Linked DNA regions of Homo sapiens: all the other regions are linked to region 1. Evidence: promoter capture Hi-C in 16 types of primary human blood cells and fetal thymus (Javierre and others, 2016). All regions are on one chromosome and are shown on one strand. Each heading gives the region's core, a stretch centred on a gene start or on the middle of the fragment in contact. The rest is flanking DNA. Distances are from core to core; before and after follow the strand shown.

Region 1 (4,188 bases), core at 802-3,301:
AGGCTGGAGAGAGGAAAAAAAAAAAAACCTGGTTATTCCCCCCACCCCCACCCCCACCCCCATATTCTTTCCCAGTAGCTTTGGCCTTGCTCGCATTCAGGGGCTCTTAACCCCTTCCTCCCCGGGCACGCGGGGCGGCTGCCAGTGGAGCTCCACGCTGGCCACTCGCGGGCTCCCAGCTCCGGGTGCAGTGCCCGCCCCTTGCACCCCTGGGCCCCGCCCGCCCTTGCGCCCCTCCAGCCTGCCTCTGCCCAGCGGAAAGCCCCTCTCCCCGCCCGGGTCTCGCTCTTCGCTTCCTCTCAGCGACCCAGCCCAGCTCAAATTTCCCAGAGAGCAATTAGAACGGGAATTAGGCTGCATTGATGCGTTCCGGCTGGTTTGCAGGCACCACCCTAGAGTGGGGGAGCCTTGGCGCTGAGACTCTGTCTCAGAGGGCAGCCTTGCCCCCCACTCCATGCCAAGCAACCAAGAAAACATTGAACCCTTACTCCTGCTAGATGCCATGCCCTCCATGCAGGTTACTTCTCCCATTGTCCTATTCCCTTTTACAGAAGCAGTTATTATCTCGCAAAACAAATTATCTTTGCTTTTTAATCAGTTATAATCTGTTGCTGTTGTTATTGCAAAGATGTTGCCAAGGATAAAAGCCCATGCAGATGCTTCGGGTTTGGGCAATCTTATTCCTGCGCACTGCTTCCCCAGACCCCTAAGCTTCCCCCTCCATTTCTCACAATTCCATTCAGGGCTCAGAGCAGGTGACTGCAGCGATTTGGTTCCAATAAAATCGAAAGTAAACGTCTCCTGTGAAAAGTCCCGGGCTGTAAATTAGAAATGTTTATGCTGATTTCCCATTGTATGGAAAAAGCTCCTGGGCGAAACAGCTTTGAGCCCGAGAACGATTTAAAAAGCTGGAGCTGTGTACACAGCTCTGAGCGTTTGAAGTTGTTTAACCATTGTGTGACCAGAAAGAAGAGTGACGCGGCAGGAAGAAGAAGCCGGGTCTTGGGGAGAGCGGAGGCGGGTCAGGGTGGGCAAAGGCAGCCGATGCCAGGAATACAACCGCCCTTCGCGCCGTTCCAAACTAAGAGATGGCAGCGGTTTCCCAGCGCACTGCTGGAAGTGTGCTCCAGTAGACAGGGTGTGGGCAAGATGCGCGGGCAGACAGTCCGCACTCGCCACATGTGCTGGGGTGCGAGATCTAGATCTGCGCCATCTCGGCTTTCATTCCCCATTCCCTGTCTCTGTTCGTAACGCTCAGAGACTGTTTTTCCTCTTTTACATCCACGGCCCTGTCATTTGAAGGAAAGGGCTGGTTGGCCAGCATCTACCGAACAAAGACTGGGCGTCGTAGGCAGCACCAAAATTAAGACTATTTGAGAAACTTAGAGAAAACCGAGGGACAGCGATGGGTCTAGGGCTGGATAAGGAATAATGAGCCCTTCTCCTCCCTCCCCACAGACGCCTCCTTCACGCGGGAACCCGGTCCTCCTTCTTCCGACGCAGAGAGAGAAGCGATTCCACAGGTGGAAAATCTGAGACCGGCTGGAGGGAGGTTCGGGGGTGCACGGCACTGAGCTGACAGGGCTGACTGGAGACAGCATACTTTTGGGGTGTAAGGGCGATAATAGAAAGAAGGGGACCAGGACCAAGTGGACAGAGGATATGAGGGTGTGCGCCCATGGGGATCTGTAGAAGAGAGGCCGCGGGGGTGCAAAATCAGTAAGGTGAACGGGCTGATGGCCAATGCAAAGCCAAAGGGGAGTAAGAAATAAAGAGAAAGGAAAGAATATTAAATCGCGGGAGAATGAGAAAATAAACCCGCAAAAGGGAGAGGAGGGGGCGAGGGCGCCTGTTACGGCGTGGGTGGGGTTGACAAGAATAGAGTACATTATGCAGTTCATTTAGTTAACAAGTGAAATAATGAGGAAGCGTGCAGAGTGAATGCCAAGAGAAAAGGCACAAAAACCCTATTGAGAGGCCCCGGCCGCTCCTGGCGTAGTCCATCACATGGCAATAGTCCTATTTAAGCCGCGCCGCCGGCGCCTTTCAGCACCACTAGCGCTGGCCAGCACCCCGCGCTCTTTGGGCGGTGCCCACGGCAGCAGAGGCTACTGTTTCAGCCTAGGTCTCAGCCGCGCGTTCAGCCTCCTGGGCAGAGGCAGCTGCGGGATACCGCGGCCAGGGAAAGCGCGTGGAGAGCCGAAAGGTGCGGTGGGCGCAGAGGGCGGGCTGGCTGCGGGGCGACCGCGCGCCGGGGCCATGCCGCGCTCCTTCCTGGTGGACTCGCTAGTGCTGCGCGAGGCGGGCGAGAAGAAGGCGCCCGAGGGCAGCCCGCCGCCGCTCTTCCCCTACGCTGTGCCCCCGCCGCACGCGCTGCACGGTCTCTCGCCTGGCGCCTGCCACGCGCGCAAGGCTGGGCTGCTGTGCGTGTGCCCGCTCTGCGTCACCGCCTCGCAGCTGCATGGGCCCCCCGGGCCGCCCGCGCTGCCTCTACTCAAGGCTTCCTTCCCACCCTTCGGCTCGCAGTACTGCCACGCGCCCCTGGGCCGCCAGCACTCTGCTGTGTCGCCCGGGGTCGCTCACGGCCCGGCCGCCGCTGCTGCTGCCGCCGCGCTCTACCAGACCTCCTACCCGCTGCCTGACCCCAGGCAGTTCCACTGCATCTCTGTGGGTAAGCGGGGCCGCCGCGCAGAGGGACCGGGCAGAGGTGATCCGAAGCAGGATGGAGAGCCAGAGATGGAGGAAGAGGGACCCTGGGCTTTCTGGGGGCGGTGAGGGTCATGTCGGGGACTAAGGGGGGCGCTTGGGGTGGAGTGAGGATAGAGGGCCGGGACACAACGCCAGGAGGCGGATGAGGGCAGACGTCCAGGTCCTGGAGTGTGGGCCGGGGTAAGTGAGGGCTGGGATCCAAGGCTCTCCATGAAGGGGAAGGGGTTCCAGGGCTGCATGACTCCGGGAGAATCAGGATCTCGGAGCTGGACAAGGAGCGCTCACTGTAGCTCTGCTGTGGATTGTGTTGGGGCGAAGAGATGGGTAAGAGGTCAAAGTCGTAGGATTCTGGCGACCGCCTACCAAGGGATTGGGTCCACAGCACAGAGGTCTGATCGCTTCCTTCTCTGCTCTGCCACCTCCAGACAGCAGCTCTAACCAGCTGCCCAGCAGCAAGAGGATGCGCACGGCTTTCACCAGCACGCAGCTGCTAGAGCTGGAGCGCGAGTTCGCTTCTAATATGTACCTGTCCCGCCTACGTCGCATCGAGATCGCGACCTACCTGAATCTGTCCGAGAAGCAGGTGAAGATCTGGTTTCAGAACCGCCGAGTGAAGCACAAGAAGGAGGGCAAGGGCAGCAACCATCGTGGCGGCGGCGGCGGGGGTGCCGGTGGTGGCGGGAGCGCACCGCAAGGCTGCAAGTGCGCATCGCTCTCCTCAGCCAAGTGCTCCGAGGATGACGACGAATTGCCCATGTCTCCGTCCTCCTCAGGGAAGGACGACCGGGATCTTACGGTCACTCCCTAGGCGCGTGTCTCCCTAGGTCGCCCACCCCAAGACCTCCCTGCGCCTCGGAGACTAGTCCTGGGACTCAGCGCTGATTCCCAGGCACCCGCAGCCAAACCACTGCCTGGCATGGATTTGGCACTGCTTTGCAGAGGTCCCGGGCCTGGGCAGGGCTGAGAGCTTGGCAGAGACTGGACCATGGCGTCCCCGCCCCAGGGCTCGCTCGTGTCCAAAGCCAACTCCAAGCTGTGAACACTGTAAGCGCTCGAGTCCTCCTGGGCAGTGCAGCACCGCGGCCCCCGCCCGCAAGCCTGCTTGGCGCAGCGCCTTGCTGGCAGCCGGCGCCTCCTAGCCCGCCCTCTCTGGGCTGGCTTGGGCTTCCTCGCTTACTCTACTCTCCTCCGCTCTCGGTCAAGGTCGGCGGCCTTGGATGCTCGTTCGCTTCTCTTTTTAAAATGTCTTTTTGTCCCTCCCCACCTCTTTCCTGTGATCATTTATTCACTCGGCCCCCGCCCGCCAACACACACATTTATGAACCCCCACTTTTTTTTTCCTTCTCCTTTTCCCTTCCCCTCCTCAGGGAGCCTCCTCCTTCAGTCAGTCCATTTGTCCCTTGATCTGGCCTTGCTGTCCTCAGTCCCCACGGCTCCTCTCACAGATGATAAATTTCGCCCGTAGTATCCATATTGGGG
Region 2 (4,188 bases), core at 1,113-3,612, 230 kb before region 1:
CCTGCCCCCAGCAACGGTCATGCCAAGGGATTCATGTGGTTCCTTCTTTACAGTAATGTGTTTTTCTTGGCATGTAACACACTGAGTAAGATCCTAAAACATACAAGAAAAAAATCATTGGATAATGAATAAAATATAGTTGAAGTAAAGTTATTACTTCAAACTAAGGTAATAACTTACATGGCATTTATAAAGTAATTATTTTTTATTCCTTAATTGCAAATGAAAGTAATACACAGTTCTTAATAAGTCTGCTGTGGATCAATGTCAAATTTTGGACTATGTTATTTTCATGACTGTTTATGTAGCTGAAAAAACTCAGGACTGCTGAAATACAGCAGTCAAAGTAAAATAAGCACATCATTTGTATAATTTGTTTGAGCTTCATGTTTGATCAACTTCACAAAAGTAAATGATGCTTTTGAGTTTTAAGATTCTGAAGACAAATCAATTAATTTTACTTCCATCTTTCCCCCATTTCTTTGACAGAAAAGTTGACAGAGTAGTACAAAAGTGTAGATTTTGGCAACTGCCAGAAAAAGGTCATCGACCTATCTCCTGATTCTCACTGACTACTACTATGAGTGCTCAATCATGAAGAAGATGCAAATCTACCTTCAAAATCTTCATGAAAAGCTAAAAGGATATAAAATGACTGAATTTTTGAAAAAGTTAATGACAGGGAAATAAATTCCCAACAAATTAATATCTCCTATTTTTACTGACATTTGTTACTACTACTTATTATTGAGATGTTCCTGGAAGAAAAAGAATTTAAAACATCACTTTTCTTTTGAATTAGAATTCAGTAAAAAATAAGATGTACATATGCAATATTAATATTAAAATAATAATTAACATTTGGGCTTAGCCTGTGAAAAGCTAATGCCTTTACATGCATTATTTCATTTAACCTTCACAAAAGTCCTGAAATTATATATTATTATTGACCCCATTTTACAGATGATGAAACAAACTTAGGGAGGTCATGTAACTTGTCCTGAATCATGTTAATATAGGCAACTGTCCTGGGATTCAAAATTTACGTATGTTAAAAGAATGTACTATATATTAATACAAATAGTATTTTGTATATGTTTATATAGTGTGATAGACTACATGTACATATTGTATATATGCACCTACACAAGAACTATCCCATTAAGTGTACAGTGTAAGATAATGTCTCAGAAGGTTTTAACACTTATTAACTGTTAAGAGAATGTTGTAGATAATTAAAATTGTTAATAATATAAAAAATACAAATTACATTCACAGAATTATAACATTTCCTTAAATCACATTAGAGAATTGACATGTATTTAACTGTTAATAATGGCATTTATCAAATCTCTAAATCAGGGCCTGGAATTCTAGGCCTATCTACCCTTCTCCAGATGTGAAATCTATACTCTTGAAATTTTACCAAAGGAGCTATGTGTAATAGCAGCATAGTATTCCCAGAAAATGTTATGACCAAGGAGAAAATCTGTAAATGTTTTAAGGCAATCTCCTATCTAAAGGTATGAAATTTTTGTCAGCAGCCTTCAAAATTAGACAAACACAACTTTATTCTGAAGACAACTCAGGTAAACTCAACCTTGAGTATATTCATTTAAGCAGGTTCAGCCCTTACATATTTAAGCAAAGTGTGGGTATTTTATTACTCTAGGTGTCTAAAATGTATGCAATTTTTACCCAGGAACCCAACCAAACTTCAAAGATTATACTCAGTTTGCTTCAAGGAACTTCCTAAAACAAACATGAATGTTTATCAGAACAGCTACTGGGAAGCTTTATAGAAGACTAATATATACTTTAATTTTTTCAGAATGATTATAATTGTCTGAAAAGATTGTTTTGGTGAATGTGTATGTGTTTTCCCTAGGAGACCTTTACTTTTCTGTATCAGGATTTGACAAAACAAATGGAGCATCTTAGTAGTAAATAGCTAAATGAACACATTCCATTTCAAGTGGTTTTTCTAACCAGCCAGGTTTGCAGAGTGCCTGGAATAGAATAAATTCAGCATCACTATTTAGAACATTGTCATATAAAATTAAAGAGAATGAGAATTAGCATAGTTATGACAGAAAAATACATGTGCCCACAACAAATTGAATTAAGGAGAGTTTGCTATAGGAATACTGGAATTATTAATTACAGTTTTTCAAACTCTCTTAAAACTATAATGTTGTTATATACACCCCTATCTCAAATTATAAAATTCAATAACATAAAAGATTCAATTATCAACTTGTACCTTATATTATAGTTTTATATGTATAAAAAACTTGTAAAGCAAGGACTAGCTATATGAAACAACACCTATTCAAAAAGTCCTGTTTAAAACAATTACCCCTTTTCCACAGTCATTATTTAAAGGCAAATTATAGGTTTCCTTCATACATTTTGGTTTTGCTCAGAAATGAGAATGAAGTCTGTGATTATAATTTCTTTTTAGTATTAACTAAATCAAAGACCAATGACAAGTCTGTAGAGAACTTAAGCTCAGAAAACCATATAAACCCAATGGGCCAAAAATACTGTGTCTTTAAGCTATGCTTTCTTAGGGTACCAGAGACAGACTCCAAAGCTAATTATTCACTCAAATGTTACTTTCAGGTGACAATAAATAAGTTTTTGCTTAGTAAAGCAATTTAATTTTACTTAAGGAGAATTACTCTGGTAGGTCACATTTAGCTTTTATTTTTGCATAATTGGGTAAGCATAACATCATTGTTTTAAAACTTCTGGCCCACTGGAAGTTAAGAGTTCAAATGAAGGATGAAATGAAGTAAATAATATCAAGAATGCTAAAGTATCATCCTTTCAGATTTTTGGACTGAAAGTGAGGTAGCATCAAAATTCTCAGCTCAGGTAGAATACATTATAAAACCAGTGAAATACTGATTCTGAAGAAACAGTAACAAAGCTTAACATATGGAAATTTTAAATGATTTAGGGTAATATTCCTCTAAGCTTTAACATAAAAAGAAATATGCTATATATGTACCTATCAAATACGTAAATATGCTATATATGTACCTATCAAAATTCATGATTCATATGTTTAATCTTCATGTATCTAATTCAGGTTCTGTAGGCAACAGGCTCAATTATTAAGCATAGATTTGTCAATCTTGTCTTATGTTTTTTCATCAACTAACTCTTATATTTAAATAAGCAACCCAAGATAAATTCCACTTTCAAGTAGGATTAAACAGATAGAAGATTTCACGCTTCTTGTTAATCGCCTGGCAAAGGAAACTTCCCCTCCAAGAAACTATCTCCAGATCTAAGGAACAAAGCAGTCACTTTCCAAGGTAGCAAAACATATACATTTCATATTCCAAACACCTATATTTTTCAACAGAATAACAACCCTCATTTGAATCTTTTTTTTAAAAAAACTGCTTTATTGAGGTGTGACTGACACACAAAAAAACCTTCATTTAAATCTTACCAGCTTGTAACAATGATCCTTTGATGGTGGCATAAAAAAAAAAAAAAATCCTCACCTTATGTGAGCTTGGTCTGCTATAATACGGTGGTGGTGTGTGGTGCTGGCTGCTGCTGCTATGATTTCCTGCTTCTCTAATGGTGTTACCAGGCTGGGGTTTCCCTGGTCTAGCAATTGTTAAATTCACTCTCTCTCCACTGGCCTGGAGAAAACACAAATACATTACCATAAGTGACTAATGATGTTTGTCATTTTAAAGATTACACACAGTGTAATTTTCAATGAACTTCTTAATCACTGTACCAGGGCGTCATCTGGACAGTGACTGCAAGCACCTGGTGGCAAGAGGAATGAGTTCATTTCATTAGCTAATATCTTAAAACTTCAGCAGTTGAAGCACATACACACAAAAATCTTGGGCATGCCGTCTGCAACCCCACCTCCAAAATGACCAAGGCAAAGTGGTCACACTGCCTGGGCTCTTATTGCCCCATGATTGGTAACTTTTCTTGTAATACTTCTTTGCATCTTCAAGGTTGGCCTTAATATTGCAAGACAGAGCAAAGGAAATAAAAGGAAGAACTGCTTCAAAACTTGATTAAAGTCCATTGTGACTTTTGAAATAAATTTCCATGGTGGCTACTTCAGAAATCATAATGAAATTCTGCACAGCTTTGTTTCTGCTGCTATAGGTCTGAGTCAAAAGTAGGATATCGGCTTCAACA
Region 3 (4,188 bases), core at 452-2,951, 180 kb after region 1:
GGGGTGGGAAGCAGGAGGCTGTTGGAAGGGCGGGCTGCCCCTCCAAGCAGATGAAAAACTCCTGAAATCCAGACATCACTGACACAGCTCCCTCCCTGTTCAAAGGTCCTAATATTTGCTCTGACTAAGGGGACCATGCTCTGCCCGATATTTGTGGCTCCTGGAAACTGGGGAGCCCATTGGCTAACATAACCCAGTTAGGGCAGGCCATCTCTATCCACCTTAGTATGTAGGTTGACTTTCTGAATCTTTTTTAGATCAAGAAAATTGTCCAGCCAGGCACAGGGGCTCACACCTGTAATCCCAGCACTTTAGGAGGCTGAGGCAGGAGGATCACCTGAGCCCAGGATAGCAAGACCCTATCTCTACAAAAAAAATTGAAAAATTAGCTGGGTGTGGTGATATGCACCTATAGCCTCAGCTTCTTGGGAGGCTGAGGTTGGAGGATGGCTTGAACCCAGGAGTTCGAGGTTACAGTGAGTTATGGTTGTGCCACTGCACTGTAGCCTGGGTGACAGAGGGAGACCCTGTCTCTAAAAATTTTTTTAATTTGAAAAAAGGAAAATAAAACTATCCAAATAATATAGTCCTTCTATACCTTGCACAGGAAACTCTTACCTTGCATTGACCTGAATTCCAGGGATAATTAAGGAGGAGTGAAAAGGAAGAGAATGTCAGCTTTCAAAATTATTCAGCTTGGCCATCTATACTGATGTGGAAAAACAGCTCAATCTCTACTTAATTTGGAGTTTAGGGAGTCTTTCAGCCATTGCACTCAATCAGCCATCTACTCACACAAAGAAAGGCTCAATAATGGTTGGTTTGACCCCAACAACCCTGCCTTGCCCTGCCACAGCCCACTCAGCTAACATCTCTGGGAAGGAAATCAATGACATCGTCCTTTCTGTAGGGCCTCCGGAGAGTCCGCCACCTGTCCAGCCCCATCAGGCCACAGTGGATCCCAACATGTCCATCCTGAACAGCAGGGAGGGGCCGCAGCTGCCTACAGCCGCCCAGGCTTCATTCACAGAAGCAGATGTCTCCTTGCCCAGTGGAGTGAAGCATATTTTCTTCCCAAGCAAACTGGGTGTCTGACCCTCTCTACCTGAGGAAAGGTTTCTGAATTAATTGGGAGGTCATTGTGGGCTAACATGTTACCACTCAGGGACCAGGCTGCAGGATAATGGGATAAGAAAAGCCAGCTGTTTTACTCTTGTTGTGAAGAGACCACCAAGATTTCTGATCCAAGGCAGGGAACAACTTTTTTTTTTTTTTTATGCTTCTCTATCCAAAATATATTCTCACATCCAAGAGATCAAGGAAAATTAAGAGCCTCAGGAGAAAGGGTAATATTTGGGTACAGAAATCTGGTTTGGTACATTGGGTAAAAGTTAGGCAAATAAATAGTCGTTGCCCATTTTCTTCCTTTCTTCTGAAACTAGGGCCTGTGGACACTGGGCATTGTATAACACATTCTTTGTGGTGGGTGAGGACAGAGGATGATTTAAATCCACAAGAGGGAGTGACTTGGAGGTCTCAAAGATTGGTGTCCCTACTGGGAACCAGAACTTCCACCCCAAAGGAAACCTCTTGATGCTAGGAGCCCAGGCTCCCCGGGCAGCACCAGCCAACTGTTACCACGTGGCTTTGGCGTGGAGAACTTTCAATGAACATTTGTTCCCTCACCATTGTCTCGTGCCTGGAATGACCTTTGTTTGCCACATGAAAATATGTTCCTAGGAAGTCCTACAGGGTAAGTTTCATGTGGCTAAGGGAAGGAGCTTAAATAAAGGTTCTGCTCCTCTTGAGTTACTGTCCCATTGGCTAGCTACATTCCCTGGAGGGGAGTCAGGGGTCTTAAAGTCTGTGTAACCTTTCCATTTTACAAAGGTGAACCCAAGGCTCAGAGAGGTTAGGTGATTTTCCCCAAGTTGCACAGCTAGCTGTTCAAGTCCCTTAAAGTAAATGAGCTACAGTATGTGCATTCTTTGCAACCCATAGCGATCTGTATAGATGTTTATTATTACTACAGCTGCTGGTGCCACCCTGGCAACATGGCACCCCAAACACAAAACCAACTAGCACGATTAGAGAATCCCATTTTCCCACTCCCACCCCCTGCACCAAATAGCACCAGAACAATCAGGTTCTGCTATTGCTACAATTCTGACCATGCTCCAGGTCCTATGTCTTTCACAGGCACCCCATAACTGTGGTTTATTCATTTATTGCATGAATTTTCCATAAATTCCATCCCAGATTTTTCTCCAGTTGACAAAGATGGTATCCATCTACTTTTGTCTCACAGTAAATACTTTCTTAGAATAACTCCTCTTGGGCCGGGCGCCGTGGCCCACGCCTGTAGTCCCAGCACTTTGGGAGGCTGAGGCGGGTGGATCACGAGGTCAGGAGTTCGAGACCAGCCTGGCCAACATGGTGAAACCCCGTCTCTACCAAAAATACAAAATTAGCTGGGAGTGGAAGCGCGCGCCTGTAATCCCAGCTACTTGGGAGGCTGAGGCAGGAGAATCGCTTGAACCCGGGAGGCGGAGTTTGCAGTGAGCCGAGATCACGCCATTGCACTCTAGCCTGGGCGACAGGGTGACACTCCGTTTCAAAAAAAAAAAAAAATCAGTCAGAACTGATATCCTGTGGCTAATCTCTAGAAATGTGTCATATTTAAAATGGGTAAAGATCATGTATAGAATTTATGTTGCCCTTTTCCCTTTCTTTCCTTCCAATTTTAGTGTCTGTAGACATCTTTTGGGCACACAGACCAAAATGCCTACCTTTCTGGGTTAATAAAGAGGAGGCCCCATTCCGTATCCCAGTTAAGTTACACAGGTGAGTGACAAGCCCGGGTCGGCTCCTGAGTTCTCATCCGGAGCTGCGCTCTCCCGTCTCTTTACTGGGAGCGTTCTCCTGCCGGGGCTTGGACATTTCCAAGGGAAGTGAAAATCCACAAAGCTGCCCCCACTTCGTAAGGGCCTGTGCCTGGAGGGTCGTCGGGTTACAGAAATTGAAATCAGCTCTTTGCCTTCCAACTCTTCTTGGCCTTGCCACCGCGATTGGTTTTGTTTTCTTTGTTTTTAACGAATTGGTAAGTAAAATATTAGTTGTTCACCCTGAAATCTGCCCTAACCACTTCCGTACCCCCTGAAGCTCGCTGGGCGCGCCCTGGGCTGTCCTTCCCTGAGCAGCCGGGCCTAGAGTCAAGGCGCGATGATTGCCGCGCAAGCTAGGGTCCACGCGGCCGGGGCTCCTCTCCCGCCTCGGGCGCACCAGAGGCCAGAAAGCGGAAAGCGGCTCTGCCAGGCCAAGGCCGACAGAAACCGAGAGCATGTCGCTATTTGCCGGAGAGAACTGCCCTGCCAGGCTGCCACAGGTGACTTGCCCGCGCGAGCCACGGCCTCTGCGCAGAGCTCCTCCCGAAGGGGAGAGTCAGAGCCACCCGCGGGTTTGGTCGGGGCTCTTCCCAGCCCGGCGTCCACGCCCCGCGTCCTGCGCTCGCCCTTGCGGCTGCTTATGCTCAGGTGTTTCGGAAGAGGCGCCGCGCAGCCAGCTCTCTGTCCCTTCAGCTCCAGCTCCTTCTAAAGGGACAGACTCAGCGTCTGCCCCCATCTGCACCCCTTCCCGCAGGAATAAAATCATTTTCCGGACAAGCTTGGAACTGTTGAAATGTAACTATGTAATTGGAGACACCGGGGTCGTGTCTGGGAGATTCTGAGCTCATCTACACTCTTGCTAAACTGCGGGGAACCCAGCCCTGGTGGGATCTGTGCATCTCACATGAGCTTTTTTACATAAAGAGCACAGACGCTGCATTTGGGGCCTGGTTTATCTAAGCGTGGGGTTTACCCCCAGGCTTGGGACTGGGTGCCCCGAACACAGTGGATTATTCTGAGTCTTAGGCCCAGCCTTGGTATTTGGGTCCTGGGTCAGAAAATCCTCTTTACCAAGCAGCAAGTTATTGTGTGTGTCAGGAAATCCCCCAGGTTACCCTGGCTAGAGAGAGGCAGGTGTCTGGCCCAGGCCCAGCACCCCACCATTGTTGCAGGGTCCCAAAGAACAGGAGCGAGCCACGGAACTTTCTTCATGGTGTGCACTCGGCGCTCCTACACCCAGAGAAGGTGTCTGGCCACAAGCCTAGGGACGCTGGTAGCACAGCCCGCTTTCCTAACACCTGCC

The links. The method cuts DNA at HindIII sites, captures the fragments that hold promoters and counts their contacts. A CHiCAGO score of 5 or more calls a contact.
Region 2: a contact is called between a fragment that was not itself captured here and the fragment with the promoter of GSX1 in region 1, in 2 of 17 cell types (endothelial precursors and megakaryocytes). The highest score is 5.6, in endothelial precursors.
Region 3: a contact is called between a fragment that was not itself captured here and the fragment with the promoter of GSX1 in region 1, in 1 of 17 cell types (naive B cells). The highest score is 5.6, in naive B cells.

What each region holds. Positions count from the first base shown.
Region 1 is chr13:27,790,432-27,794,619 of GRCh38, forward strand. GSX1 (GS homeobox 1) reads left to right here and starts at 2,052. Exons shown (of 2, transcript NM_145657.3): 1 at 2,052-2,671; 2 at 3,135-4,188. The coding sequence starts at 2,260. The coding sequence ends at 3,517. RefSeq lists an enhancer at 1,979-2,782. The HindIII fragment of the contact is 6,142 bases long and covers 710-4,188 here.
Region 2 is chr13:27,556,321-27,560,508 of GRCh38, forward strand. LNX2 (ligand of numb-protein X 2) reads right to left here. Exons shown (of 10, transcript NM_153371.4): 6 at 3,522-3,665; 7 at 1-93. Among named protein-coding and RNA genes, the nearest start is that of LNX2, 62 kb to the right of the region's middle. The HindIII fragment of the contact is 1,141 bases long and covers 1,793-2,933 here.
Region 3 is chr13:27,972,555-27,976,742 of GRCh38, forward strand. No RefSeq gene overlaps it. Among named protein-coding and RNA genes, the nearest start is that of CDX2, 5.3 kb to the left of the region's middle. RefSeq lists an enhancer at 1-58. The HindIII fragment of the contact is 3,920 bases long and covers 1-3,661 here.